2 separate regions of the Homo sapiens genome follow, and region 1 is linked to region 2. Evidence: promoter capture Hi-C in 16 types of primary human blood cells and fetal thymus (Javierre and others, 2016). All regions are on one chromosome and are shown on one strand. Each heading gives the region's core, a stretch centred on a gene start or on the middle of the fragment in contact. The rest is flanking DNA. Distances are from core to core; before and after follow the strand shown.

Region 1 (6,843 bases), core at 1,958-4,457, 5.1 Mb after region 2:
TCCCGACCTTCCCTCGAGACCCGCCAAGAAATAAAGGCGATGATTTCCGACCATGCTCGCGTTCTCCGCGGAGTCTGTGCTACACCGTGGAGCGGGGCGGGGCGTGCTGGGATCTCGAGGCGGGGCCTCTGCCGGACCCCTCCCACCAGTCGAGCCCCGGGCGCCGTACAGAGGCTGGGTAAATGCTCCTGAACTCAGAGAGAGTAAGTGGGTGTCAGTATCCCCCGCCCCACGGCCTCATCTCGAGTTCCCAAACCATCTATGTTGTCAACAGGGGCCGGAGGGCAGGTGTTAACCCATTCCGGTCCTCGGGGCCTGTGCGTCTCCGGTGGTCTCAGGAAACCCAGAGTCTCTGCAAGACCCGCAGACTCGCGCTGGCTCTGGGACATGCCCGCCCATCTGAGCTCCCCTCACAAATTGGGTTCTAGCCAAGGCTGCCTCTCCACCCGTCTCAAACATTCCAAAACACGTGTCCCCTCGGGGCCTTCGCCCTACTGGTCCTTCTCTGGGGTCACATCCCCCAGGCAACCTCAGATCTGTTAAATGTGTCCGCCACTCTGGAGGCCGGCATTTGGGACCCAAATCCAAAGGCACCCAGCAGCAGGCTGCGGCCATTGACTGAGCATGTACTGACTAAGCAGGCATTTGCCGATTGCCTGCTGGGTACCAGGCACTGTTCTAAGCACTGGATTTTAAACAGCGCGGTCAGCGACGGCCTCACCTAGGAAGTGGTATCTGAGCGGAGAAGCGAGGTAGAGAAGCGAGGGGGTGAGCCCTGTGGGTGTCTGGGGAAAGGTGGGCCTGGCAGAAGACATGCCTCATGCCAAGGCGGGAGGTGAGGCTGCACTTCGCTGTGTTTGAGGAGACGTCTGGAGAAGGCCGGCGTGGTAGAGTGGAATGAGGTAGAGTGGGATGGGAGACGACACTGGAGAGTTGCCAAGGACCAGTCAAGTTGGACACTATCTAATGTGTGTAGAAGAGGACCTGGCACACAGTCAGTATTCAGTGAATGCCAGCTCTCACATATTGTTGGGATGATTCACTATTCCCAGTCCCTAGAGAATGGGAACTGAGATGTGTGACTCACTTAGATCAGAGGCTTCTGTCCATTAAGTGATCAGTAAGTGGTTCATATGATTTATTATTATTATTCCCAGGCTACAGATGAGGAACACTAAGGTGTGTATATCTCTCAGAACAGAGATTTTTATAACATAAATGCTCAATAAATGGTATCTATCATTTATTATTCTCACTGCTATTCTTGCTGTTATTCCCAATTTAGCGATGAGGAAAATTGAGATAGTGAATCTGTACAGTAAGCCCTCAATAAACGTTGGGTCTCACGTTTGTTGCCATTATTATCCCAAGTCCACAGATGAGGCCCAGGGAGCTTTAGTCCCCGAGTCACCACTCGCATCCGGGCAGAGCTGACTCCAGGCCCAGGCTGTGGTCCCCTGCCCCACTGACACCACCTACTTGCTAAGGCCAGTCTCCAGGAATCTCTAAGGAACTTCAGTATCCTCTTTGTCATCCTCTCTGTGTCACACAAATGGGGTCAGCCTGGATATTCTGCCGATTTACCACTGGGCACCTAGGATTCGAGTCCTGGTTTCCCTGTTCACCAGCTGGATGACCTCAGGCAAATTGCTTAATGTCTCTAAAACGCAGTGACCAGCTGGGTGCTGTGGCTCACGCCTGTAATCCCAGCACTCTGGGAGGCTGAGGCGGGTGGATCACGAGGTCAGGAGTTCAAGACCAGCCTTGCCAAGATGGTGACACCCCTTGGTTTGGTGGTGGCAGGTGTCTGGAATCCTAGCTACTCAGGAGGCTGTGGCAGAGAATTGCTTGAACCCGGAAGGCGGAGGTTGCAGTGAGCCAAGATGGCGCCACTACACTCCAGCCTGGGCGACAGAGCGAGACTTTGGCTTTTGATTTGCCCTGTGTTCTCCTGACTCAACTGACCTTCCTGGCAGGGCTACTTCTCCTTTCATTGAAATAATTGACAGCTGCCTGGGAAGTCTTCACTCACTTCCTGTAACAGCTTTTCTCAGGGCTTGCATTCAATTACCATAATTCTCAAGCTTCTTGGCTTGTAGTTCAGGTTCAAATGTGAATGAGCCTGGGGGAGCTCAGTGTTGCCAAAAGGCGGAAGGACATTCTTTTTATTATTATTATTATTTTTATTTATTTATTTATTTATTTTTGAGACGGAGTCTCGCTCTGTCGCCCAGGCTGGAGTGCAGTGGCGCCATCTCGGCTCACTGCAAGCTCCGGCTCCCAGGTTCACGCCATTGTCCTGCCTCAGCCTCCAGAGTAGCTGGGACTACAGGTGCCCGCTACCACACCCGGCTAATGTTTTTCTGTATTTTTAGTAGAGACGGGGTTTTACCGTGTTATCCAGGATGGTCTCGATCTCCTGCCCTCGTGATCCGCCCGCCTCGGCCTCCCAGAATGCTGGGATTACAGGCGTGAGCAACCGCACCCGGCCAGGACATTCTTGAAAAAAGTAAGCCAGAAAGAAACCCACTGAAAAACAGAGGAGTCAGAGGAGGGGCCCGAAGAGATGCAAACATAGCACATCCTGAGTAGCAAGCTAGACAAGGCATGGAAGAGAGAGTGGCCAAAGTGACTGCAGTAGAATCTCCCGGAGGATAATAATATTACTACCTAATAGAGCACACTAGTTAGCAGAACAGAACCCAGGGCCAGACTGTGTTTGTTAGAATCCCAGCTCTGCTGCATACTAGCTGTGTAACTTCAGGTTACACAGTTAGGTTACTTAAATTCCCTTTTTTTTTTTTTTTTTGAGATGGAGTTTCATTCTTGTTGCCTAGGCTGGAGTGCAATGGCGAGATCACGGCTCACTGCAACCTCCACCTCCTGAGTTCAAGGGATTCTCCTGCCTCACCCTCCCGAGTCACTGGGATTACAGGCGCCCACCTCCACACCCAGCTAATTTTCGTATTTTTAGTAGTGACGGGGTTTCACCATGTTGGCCAGGCTGGTCTCAAACTCCTGACCTCAAGTGATCCACCCGCCTTGGCCTCCCAAAGTGCTGGGATTACAGGCGTGAGCCACCCTGACTGGCCGTTCATAAAGTTTTGAGGACATGTAGCATGTTACGTTTCAGAGAATCAAAGGCATCCACCATTTCTTTTTTGATCTCTCAATTTTGTGTTCATTTAGATTTCAGACAGCAATCAAAACATCAAGTACAGGTGAATACAATCCCAGGCCACCTTTTCCTGGGAACCTGGATATTGAGCTCTTACTTTTCTCCATTCTAGGATCTTGTTAAGCAGTGATGCTAACCAGTGAGTAGAACAGTGAGAGGTCCGTGCATATTCTATTTGCTGATCTACCAGCTGTTTTAAGGGACTGGTCAGTGGCAGAATTAACATATTTGCCATACCTACAAAATTCACAAGTACCTAGACTTCATTTTCCATTTTCCTACAAAACTCAAACTCTGTTTTTGTGACCTATTACTCACCGTAATCCTACCCAGCATCTTTCTCATTGGAATCTTGAGTAACATTTACCCAAAGATTACATTAGTTCCATTCTTCTTCCTTTCATTATCAAGTCATTATTAGATGGAGATGATTTGAATAGCCTAGGTGCCTGTTTTTTGTCTTGTAGTCCTTCCTTGGTGTTAACTCTGAAATTAATTTATCTCTTTTTTTATTTTTATTTATTTATTTTTTGAGATGGACTCTCACTCTGTCGCCCAGGCTAGAGTGCAGTGGCACAATCTCGGCTCCCTGCAACCTCCACCTCCCGGGTTCAAGCGATTCTCCTGTCTCAGCCACCCAAGTAGCTGGGACTACAGGTGCCCACCAACACGCCCGGCTAATTTTTGTAGTTTTAGTAGACACAGGGTTTCACCATATTGGCCAGGCTGGTCTCAAACTCCTGACTTCAAATGATCCACCCACCTTGGCCTCCCAAAGTGCTGGGATTATAGGCGTGAGTCACCATGCCCTGCTAAAATTAATTGATTTCTTCCAAGTGTGTGCAGTCATGTTTTACTTCTGTGATCAGACCTATTTAAGAGTTATAAAGATTCCTTCCAATTGTATCTTATGAAAGCCAGTAGGCATTTAATGACCTTCTTTTCTGGAGTCATTGTCTTTATATTTTGTGCCTCATTTTTGGAAAGCCTGTTTTACTTTCCGTGTGTCTTCTTATTTCTAAAGTCTTATTAAACCTACATTATCTAAAATGCCCATTACCTATAAATTTCTCTTCCACTCTGAGATTAAATATCTTTCTCAGTGGTTACCTTTATATTTTTAGAACATTTTATTGTTTAAAAATCACAGTCAAAGCTTCAAAAAACATACACCCCAAAATATCCCAATTTCAGTATCCTACTACCCAGAGGAGAGCACATGGCTGTTCTTCCCCTTCTGGTGCCCACAGCACTAGCGAGGACCCTGCCCTGAAGAGACCACTTGCCCACCCTCCTGCCCACCATATGTTAAGTCACCGTTTCTAATACATTTATTTATTTATTTATTTATTTAGTAAGATGGAGTCTCGCTCTGTTGCCTAGGCTGGAGTACAGTGGTGCAGTCTCGGCGCACCGCAAGCCCTGCCTCCTGGGTTCAAGCAATTCTGTAGCAGCGTCCCGAGGAGCTGGGATTACAGGCACCCACCATCCCATCCAGCTAATTTTTGTATTTTTAATAGAGACGGGGTTTCACCATGTTGGCCAGGCTGGTCTCAAACTCCTGACCTCAGGTGATCCACCCACCTCAGCCTCCAAAAGTGCTGGGATTATAGGTGTGAGCCACTGCTCCCGGGCCCTAATGCTTTTATAATTTAGTTTATATTTGAACTATTTGGAATTTATTTTGTGTCTGTACATAATCTGGAGAGAATTTACTGAATAGCACATGTATCCCCCCAACTGCAATGCCATCCTCGCCATATACCAAATAATCATGTCTATTTTGGTCAATTTCTGAACTGTTTATTCTATTCCTTTATCTAGTTACCTATTTATACACAAATACCAAACTTTTTATTATTATACCCTTAAATAATATTATGAAACTCACTTGGTGAGACCTCCTCTATATTTTCCTACTGTTTCAGAATTTTTCAAGGGTAGTTTCTTTCCTATGCATACTCTAGAATCATATTGTCTATTTCCAAAAAAAAAAAAAAAACAAAAAAACAAAAAACCTGACTGGGCGCAGTGGCTCACAGCTGTAATCCCAGCACTTTGGTGGGCAGAGGCAGGCAGACTATGAGGTCAGGAAATCAAGACCATCCTGACTAACATGGTGAAACCCTGTCTCTACTAAAAATACAAAAAATTAGCTGGATGTGGTGGCACAAGCCTGTAGTCCCAGCTACTAGGGAGGCTGAGGCAGGAGAATCACTTGAACCCAGGAGGCGGAGGTTGCAGTGAGCAGAGATCACGCCACTGCACTCTAGCCTTGTGGCAGTGTGAGACTCTGTTTCAAAAAAAATTAAACAGCAGCAACAACAACAAAAAACCCCTATTATTATTTGATATTTGTATTGAATGAAATATATACATTAACATGCAGGAAATTAGTATCATTATATTGAGCCTTCTAAAGGAGAAAAGAGTCTGTTTTATCTGTTTAGTTTTTTTTTTTTTTTTTTTTGAGATAGCGTTTCACTCTTGTTGCCTAGGCTGGAGCGCAATGGTGTGATCTCAGTTGACCACAACCTCCGCCTCCCGGGTTCAAGCAATTCTCCTGCCTCAGCCTCCTGGGTAGCTGGGATTACAGGCATGCATCACCATGCCCAGCTAATTTTGTATTTTTAGAAGAGATAGGGTTTCTCCATGTTAGTCGGGCTGTTCTCCAACTCCCGACCTCAGGTGATCCGCCTGCCTTGGCCTCCCAAAGTGCGGGGATTACAGGCGTTAGTCACCGCACCTGGCCTAATTTTTATTTTATGTGTTCTTCTCCTCTGTATATCTCTTTGAATTCTATTTTACCTGATAATAATGTTGCTACAGTAATTTTTTTTTTTTGAGACTGAGTCTCACTCTGTTGCCCAGGTTGGAGTGCAGTGGCACTATCTCGGCTCACTGCAACCTCTGCCTCCTGGGTTCAAGCAATTCTCCTGCCTCAGCCTCCCGAATTGCTGGGATTACAGGCACCTGCCACCATGCCCAGCTAATTTTTTGTATTTTTAGTAGAGATGGGGTTTCACCATGTTGGCCAGGCTGGTCTTGAACTCCTGACCTCAGGTGATCCACCCACCTCAGCCTCCCAAAGTGCTGGAATTACAGGCGTGAGCCACCACGCCCGGACAATAAATGTATTTTTAGGAATATTTTTCTTCGTATGTTTCTTTACTTGACTGTCTATTTAGGTATCTAATTTTTCAGGGTTTGTTTAATAAAACTATACTGTCATTGATAATTCATAGCCTAATGAGGAAGGCAACCCAGGACAAAGGGTTCAAAGACACAGGTACATACTAGAGTGTGGGGAGGCATGCAGGCACATCCTAATGCAGGTAATGTTGACTACGTTGTTAAAGGCAAGTAGGAATTAGTCAAGCAAAGAAGAGAGCAAAAGAAACTCCCTGTTGAAGAAGGTCATGGCAAAGCGAGAAGGCATGAGCACTGTGAGTATGATACATAAATCTCTACATCAGAATCTTTTGATCCAGTGTTTAGTTTATGACAAAAGATAAGGCCAGAAACCTATGTACAAACAAGATGATTAAGACCTTTCCTGCCACATCAAGCTGATGGAATTCTACCTCGAAATGTGGAAGGGATACACTAAGAAATATTTAGCTATTAGAACCTGAGGGCCTCTTTGATACCTGTTAAAAGTTGAA
Region 2 (6,284 bases), core at 1,918-4,417:
TTTGGGGGCTTGGTTCAGGGCAGGCACACAATCAGCTCTTAGTGAACTAACAAATGAACAGCTATATACCCAACCCTGACTACTCCCTCTCATGTACTACTCAGATGCTGAAGTGAGAATATACAGATTATTAATAAAAACCAATTATTTTAGACATTCACTTACAATATCATCTAGCTGCAGACAGACAGGATCTTCATCTCTCCCAAACCTGAGAACCAACACCTTCTCAGCAGTACTTTTTATCGCCTGGTCTACTTCCTTTTTGCTAGTCAGCTTGGGCAGTAGGAAGCTCATCTTGAAATAACCCAAATGTGAATCCTCACTGTCACTCCTGAAATAAAGGTGCAATGTTTAAAGACAGTTTAGATTAAGTGCGTGAGCCCTCATTAAAAAAAATTAATTCACAGAGTAGCTAATGTATTCACATGGTATGAAAGAAACATCATAGAAAGGTAACACTGTGGAGTTTCCCTCTCTTTGTCCCTGCTCCTTGGAACCAGTTTTCATTGTTCCCTCCCCCGGGCCAGATAACTGCTTTCATTAGTTTCTCATGTATCTTTCAGAGTTTTGTTATGCATTCACCAAAAAATACAAATATGCGTTCCGATATTTTTTTTCTCTCTCTCCCCACCCCCAAAAGATAGCCTATTGTATCAGTGTTCCAGCAGGAAAGCGATGACACTCTCAACTTTGGTAATTTGAAGGCAGTTTAATTAAGGCAGGTGTAGAAAAACAATACGGTAAAGTGTACTACTTTGGGGCTAGTAACAGCGGGATGCTGTACCCATCCCTAGGCCATGGGAGGAAGAAGCCACGGTAGGAAGCAGTTATAAGAATTGTGTGGCAGAAAGAGGTGAGTGGAGAGGACAGTGTATAGGAGGGCAGCCTGCTGTTAGGTGTTGCAGCCACTCTCCTCCCTCCCTCTGACCTTTGCTCATGCAACCACCGGCTGACTCCAACTGGAACCAGAGGGCAGGGGCCTGTTGAGGCAGGCAAACCTCCCTGTCCCAGAGCAGTCTAGAGGAGGATGAAGAATGGCTGTGGAGGGACCAATGGCAGATGTTCAGCACACACACTTTATCTACTCTTCAGCACTTTTCATTATTTCAAACCTAACCTATGAAGATTGCCCCATATCTCTATATAGAGAACATCCATATTCTCTGTCATGGCAGCATATTATTTCTTGCATGTGTTACACTTTTTAAACAGTCCTTTATTGTATACTTTATATTATTACAAGTCCTGGCTTAAAGATTCTTCGTGTGCACCTTACTAGGTGCACCTCATTACACGGCAAACAGATCAATTAAGAGTGTGTGTGAAAACTACAATACCATAAACAAATAATAAAATACTGAGGTACAAGGGACCTAATACAACCCCGTCATTTTACAAACTAGCTTGCTTACAGTTGCACTTTCTACTACAATGACAAGGACTAGAATACAGGCCACCAAATTTCTAGTCCAGGGGTCCTTCTACTACAATAATCTATTTTCATGATTGGTAGAAATTTCATTTTTGAGAAACTCTTTGACAAAGAAGCTTAGTTTTGTGGTCATCTATAAGAGACTCCATTGAGATGGTCGGTATTTTGAATTCAGTTCCAAATATGAAAAGGGAGGATTTCTTTTCCTATTTTTTTTGTCACAAGTCACATTTTAAGATACGAATTAGGCCAGGCTCACCCCTGTAATCCCAGCACTTTGGGAGGCCAAGGAGGGTGGATCACCTATGGCCAGGAATTCGAGACCAGCCTGGCCAACATGGTGAAACCCCGTCTCTACTAAAAATACAAAAAATTAGCCGGGCGTGGTGGCAGATGCCACCTGTAATCCAAGCTACTCAGGAGGCTGAGGCAGGAGAATTGCTTGAACCCTGGAGGCGGAGGTTGCAGTGAGCTAGGATCGCTCCACTGCACTCCAGCCTGGGCAAGGCAACAAGAGCGAAGCTCCGTCTCCAAAAAAAAAAAAAGGAATTATTTAACTAAAATTCACATAGGAAATAAGATTGTTCCAGCTATAGGTCATACTTTAAACAGGGACATTGATGGCCCAAAGGGACGTCATCAGATGTGAGCAGCAGAACAAATTACCAATGAAAGGGAAGGTCAAAGAGAAGACGGATCTGTCCCACTAGAATTCAAACAAACAGCAGTTCCTCCGTGTTACTGATCGAAAGGAGAAAGTAAGGGGAGAACAAAGTTGTTAGTGGTGAGGCTAGGGGTGCAACTGGACAAACGTTGGAAGCAGGAGAGGAAAACTGAGACCACATCTAAGAAAATGTCCATAGTAAATGATACCCACAGAGAATTCCCAAAAGAAGACGTACAAATGGACAGTAAATAAACTAAAAAGTTAAGCTTTACCAGTAAGCAAAGAAAAGCAAATTAAAACATATGTTTACAAAGTCACTGAATTGGCAAAAATTAAACAAGATAGTGGTAGGGGCAGGCACAGGGAGTTCCTGCTGGAATGCAGACACAAAACCTTTCTGGAAAGAAAACTGACATACTCTTTGACCAATAACTCCACTGCTTTCCTCTCTCCCTCTCTTTTTCTGAGGCGGGGTTTCGCTATGTTGCCCAGGCTGGTCTCAACTCCCCAGGCTCAAGCAATCCTCCCGCCTCAGCCTCCCGAGTAGCTGGAACCTCAGGCGCGCGCCACAACTGCAGAAACACCAAAAAAAGAAAAAAAGCTTGAACTCACTTTTGTACAGAATCTTACTACAATGTATTCCAGAAAAACAACTGGAAATCAGTGGTCATCTCTGCGTGTGAACGCATGGGTGATTTTTATTTACAGCCGGGCGCGCATCTCCATTTTCCAAAATATCCGATATACATATTTAAAGTCACCTGTGTTGCGCTGCTCCTGGCCCACAAGCGCTAAGGGACCCCAGCACTTACCTTACTCGTCCACGCCGCCTCACTCCCTTTCACTTTGTGGCTGTCAGCAACCACTTCTCGGAAGAGCCCGGGCGCGGACAGCTCCTTTCATCAGCCCCAAGCCGGACAGGACCCTAAGACCAAGTCACCCAGGGGCTGTTGCCTAGCAACCCTCGTGGCCCCGCTAGCGGGAAGGAAACCGAACAGAAAACGCACAAGCGCAGAAAAGAAACTCCTGGCCGTCGGTCGGCCCCCGCTCAACAGCCCAATAAACGGAAGAGCTTCTAGTCACCGCCCACCTTGCTCGGCTCTGACCGGAAGCTAGGCGTCACCTCCGCCCGTATTAAAGATGGTCGACCTTTTTCCCCTCCTTTTCCTGCCCCCAGACTAGAGGCGGGATGTAGTCTCTTAGGCTAAGAGTGATTGGTCACAAGGAGACTCGGAAGTGTCTGATCAGAGCCCCAGAGGAGGCCTTGAGAGCCTGTTGGCGTACCGTTCCACACTTGGATCCAGGAATCGGGCGTGTTCCAGGCTGCTCTCTATGGTAGCTTTGGGCGGATAGAGGGGGCGCGCAAAGTATTAAGGGACAATAATGGCCGCTTTCAAGGTGTGGATTTTGGCTCCTTGAGCCTGTCTGAGCGAGGGGTGGCAGCGCCGGCGCCCCAGAATCCGGGACAGAAGGGTCCCAAGAGTCGCGCTTGGTGAGGTGAGAGTCCCTTCTTCCTTCCTGGCCTGCCCTTCTGTAATCATGGCGGCTCTAGGCGGCGGATATTGGTCCCCTGCTCAGGTCCGGGCCCCAGTTTGGGGAGTTCCTCTGTCGTCCCTGTCACCCACCTTGCCTTACTCACCTCAGGGATGCTGCATCCGTCCTGGCCGCCTTGGCCTTCCTCCTTGCTCTGGTCAAATCCTGCTGCCTGGAGCGGCCTCGCTGAGATCCAGGGATGCTGCCTGGAGTGGCCTTGGTCCCTCTCCCAGGCCTCCGCTTTAACCCACCCCAGACTGTCACCGAGCCCGAGTAGGACTCCTTGTGTCTTCCTCTGCTCTCTCACAGTGTCATTTATACCAGGCAATCTGGTGGGCGATCTCTTCTACTAGAATGTCAGCTCCAGGTGGGCGGGGATTTTTGTCTTGTTCTCTGTTGCTATCGCCGAGAACAGCAATTGGCTCAGGGACACCCTCAGTGAATAATTGTTGAATGAATGAATCCAGGTTCTTTCTTCCCTGGCTTTCTCGTACGCCTTGTAGTTTCTTTGCCATTAATCCTTCTCAAGAATCTTGCTCTTTAGCTCCTTATTTGTTCGTCTCAGCAGCTAATGAAGTTCTCTCTGGCTGTCTCCTTGTCCTGTGTTGCTGGAATCTTCCCTTGCTGTCTCCAGAAATGTTTGGGTTCCTGTCCTCCTTTAATAAGTTTAAATTAATTCATTTTTTAATTTATCAAACGCTTATTTTGCTAGACATTGAGCTACAGCAGTCAACAACACATCCAGTGTTCTCTCAACTGCGTAGAATGGCAGTCCAGGGTACCTTTCCTAGTTTAGACAACTATTGAGTAGAGCCTGTATATCTTTACCTTCTTGTGTGGATTTCCTCACATGCGCACAGATGTCACCAATATGCAGCTTTCTTTTTTTCTGTTCTGCCTGATGGCATTTTCAAAATGTAACTCTTGTTTCTGCATTAATATTATGTGTCCAGTCTGTTTGGCAATACTCTGTAGAGCTGTGCATTTAATTAGAGTTTGGTAAACAATTCTGGATTCTGGTGGCATCTCCTTTGCTTTGCTAACTTGTTGGAATGAGAGGAATTATCCAAGCATCCAGAACTGATATATGTTGATGAGTGGCAGATGTGTAGTGAGAGGTAAAGAGGAGCTTGTTCCAACTTGAGTGCCAGAAGTCTTGTAGCCACTTAAATACTTCTCAGTAACACCTTTTCCTAACCTGGTGTTTCTCATAAATATTTTTGGTGAACATGGATTGTTATTAAACTGATTTTGGCTGCTGTGAGTAAATTGTTTTCTGTAAAACGCAGCTAGGCCAAGAAAAGCCACTAAAGTATGGAGAACATGGACGGTAGCCTTCTGCCCCATCTCTGTGCTGCTGTACCTGTTGTTTAAAGAGAGGAAGAGGTAGAACTCATGTAAAAAAATGGGTGAGGGACCAACAGTATATAGGAGGATAGCAAATAATACAATGTAGCAGTTACATTTATGTTAACTGTTATGGTTACATAAAGAGCTACTCTTTATGGTTTCACATACACTTTTTGTTTGATTCTCACAATAGCTTCATGGATTAGATAAGGTAAAAATTTTTTCCATTTAATAGATATGAAATTATGGCTAAACAAAGATTAAGTTATTTGCTTACCATCATACAGGTAGAAAGTGTCAAGAGCCTGGTTTCTAATTGAGGTTTCTGATTCAAATTTAGTGGTGTTTTCCCTACATCCCTGTTACAGCTGCTGACATCAGGCTCTAGAAAGTGTCCCTTAGTGAGACTTTTTATTGCCTCTTGGATCTTTGTGGGGGCTGGGGAGGAATGTATGGGGTGTGTGTGTGTGTGTGTGTGTGTGTGTATCTATTTTGGTGTTTATTGGGGGTTGGAATAGGAGAATCTTTGGAGATAGGCAGTGACTTGATGGAAAGGTCTTGGAGAGAGGGAGCAAAAGTAGTCCTGGTCTTAAGGGGAGATGGGGAAGGTTAATCACCTACATATAACCATAACTGCATTTATTGTGGGATATAGTAGAGCTGAGCCTTCTCTAGTACCAAATGGTTTGCCTTCCTTCCAGAGAAATCCCAGATCCTGTGATGGGGGACACCAGTGAGGATGCCTCGATCCATCGATTGGAAGGCACTGATCTGGACTGTCAGGTTGGTGGTCTTATTTGCAAGTCCAAAAGTGCGGCCAGCGAGCAGCATGTCTTCAAGGCTCCTGCTCCCCGCCCTTCATTACTCGGACTGGACTTGCTGGCTTCCCTGAAACGGAGAGAGCGAGAGGAGAAGGACGATGGGGAGGACAAGAAGAAGTCCAAAGTCTCCTCCTACAAGGACTGGGAAGAGAGCAAGGATGACCAGAAGGATGCTGAGGAAGAGGGCGGTGACCAGGCTGGCCAAAATATCCGGAAAGACAGGTAAAGGCCTTAGTATGGGTTAGCCCAGAGGGAAGCGAACGGAGGCTGGAAAATAACAGCTCATGTTTATCTCTCAGTTTTCCTGTTGGAGATTTAGAGCTTTATGATTTTATTATGATTCTGTAATACTGAAGGTAGGTAGGAATTTGTGGGGAAAAACAAAGGTGAATAAAGACGAGATGGTAGAGGTTAGAAATGCCTTGGGTTGTTGCCATATGTGAGCCTGCGTCCCAGGGAGAGAAAGTGGAAAAGGACA

The links. The method cuts DNA at HindIII sites, captures the fragments that hold promoters and counts their contacts. A CHiCAGO score of 5 or more calls a contact.
Region 1: a contact is called between a fragment that was not itself captured here and the fragment with the promoter of TXNL4B in region 2, in 2 of 17 cell types (total CD8 T cells and naive CD8 T cells). The highest score is 5.5, in total CD8 T cells.

Annotation. Positions count from the first base shown.
Region 1 is chr16:77,212,951-77,219,793 of GRCh38, forward strand. SYCE1L (synaptonemal complex central element protein 1 like) reads left to right here. Exons shown (of 11, transcript NM_001129979.3): 11 at 1-265. Among named protein-coding and RNA genes, the nearest start is that of SYCE1L, 17 kb to the left of the region's middle. RefSeq lists an enhancer at 1-261 and silencers at 41-130, 161-210. The HindIII fragment of the contact is 2,250 bases long and covers 2,083-4,332 here.
Region 2 is chr16:72,090,453-72,096,736 of GRCh38, forward strand. It overlaps TXNL4B (thioredoxin like 4B), which reads right to left and starts at 3,168. Exons shown (of 4, transcript NM_017853.3): 1 at 2,915-3,168; 2 at 166-334. The coding sequence starts at 297. It overlaps DHX38 (DEAH-box helicase 38), which reads left to right and starts at 3,395. Exons shown (of 27, transcript NM_014003.4): 1 at 3,395-3,599; 2 at 5,687-6,028. The coding sequence starts at 5,706. RefSeq lists enhancers at 2,941-3,270, 3,281-3,330, 3,391-3,690. The HindIII fragment of the contact is 4,501 bases long and covers 2,702-6,284 here.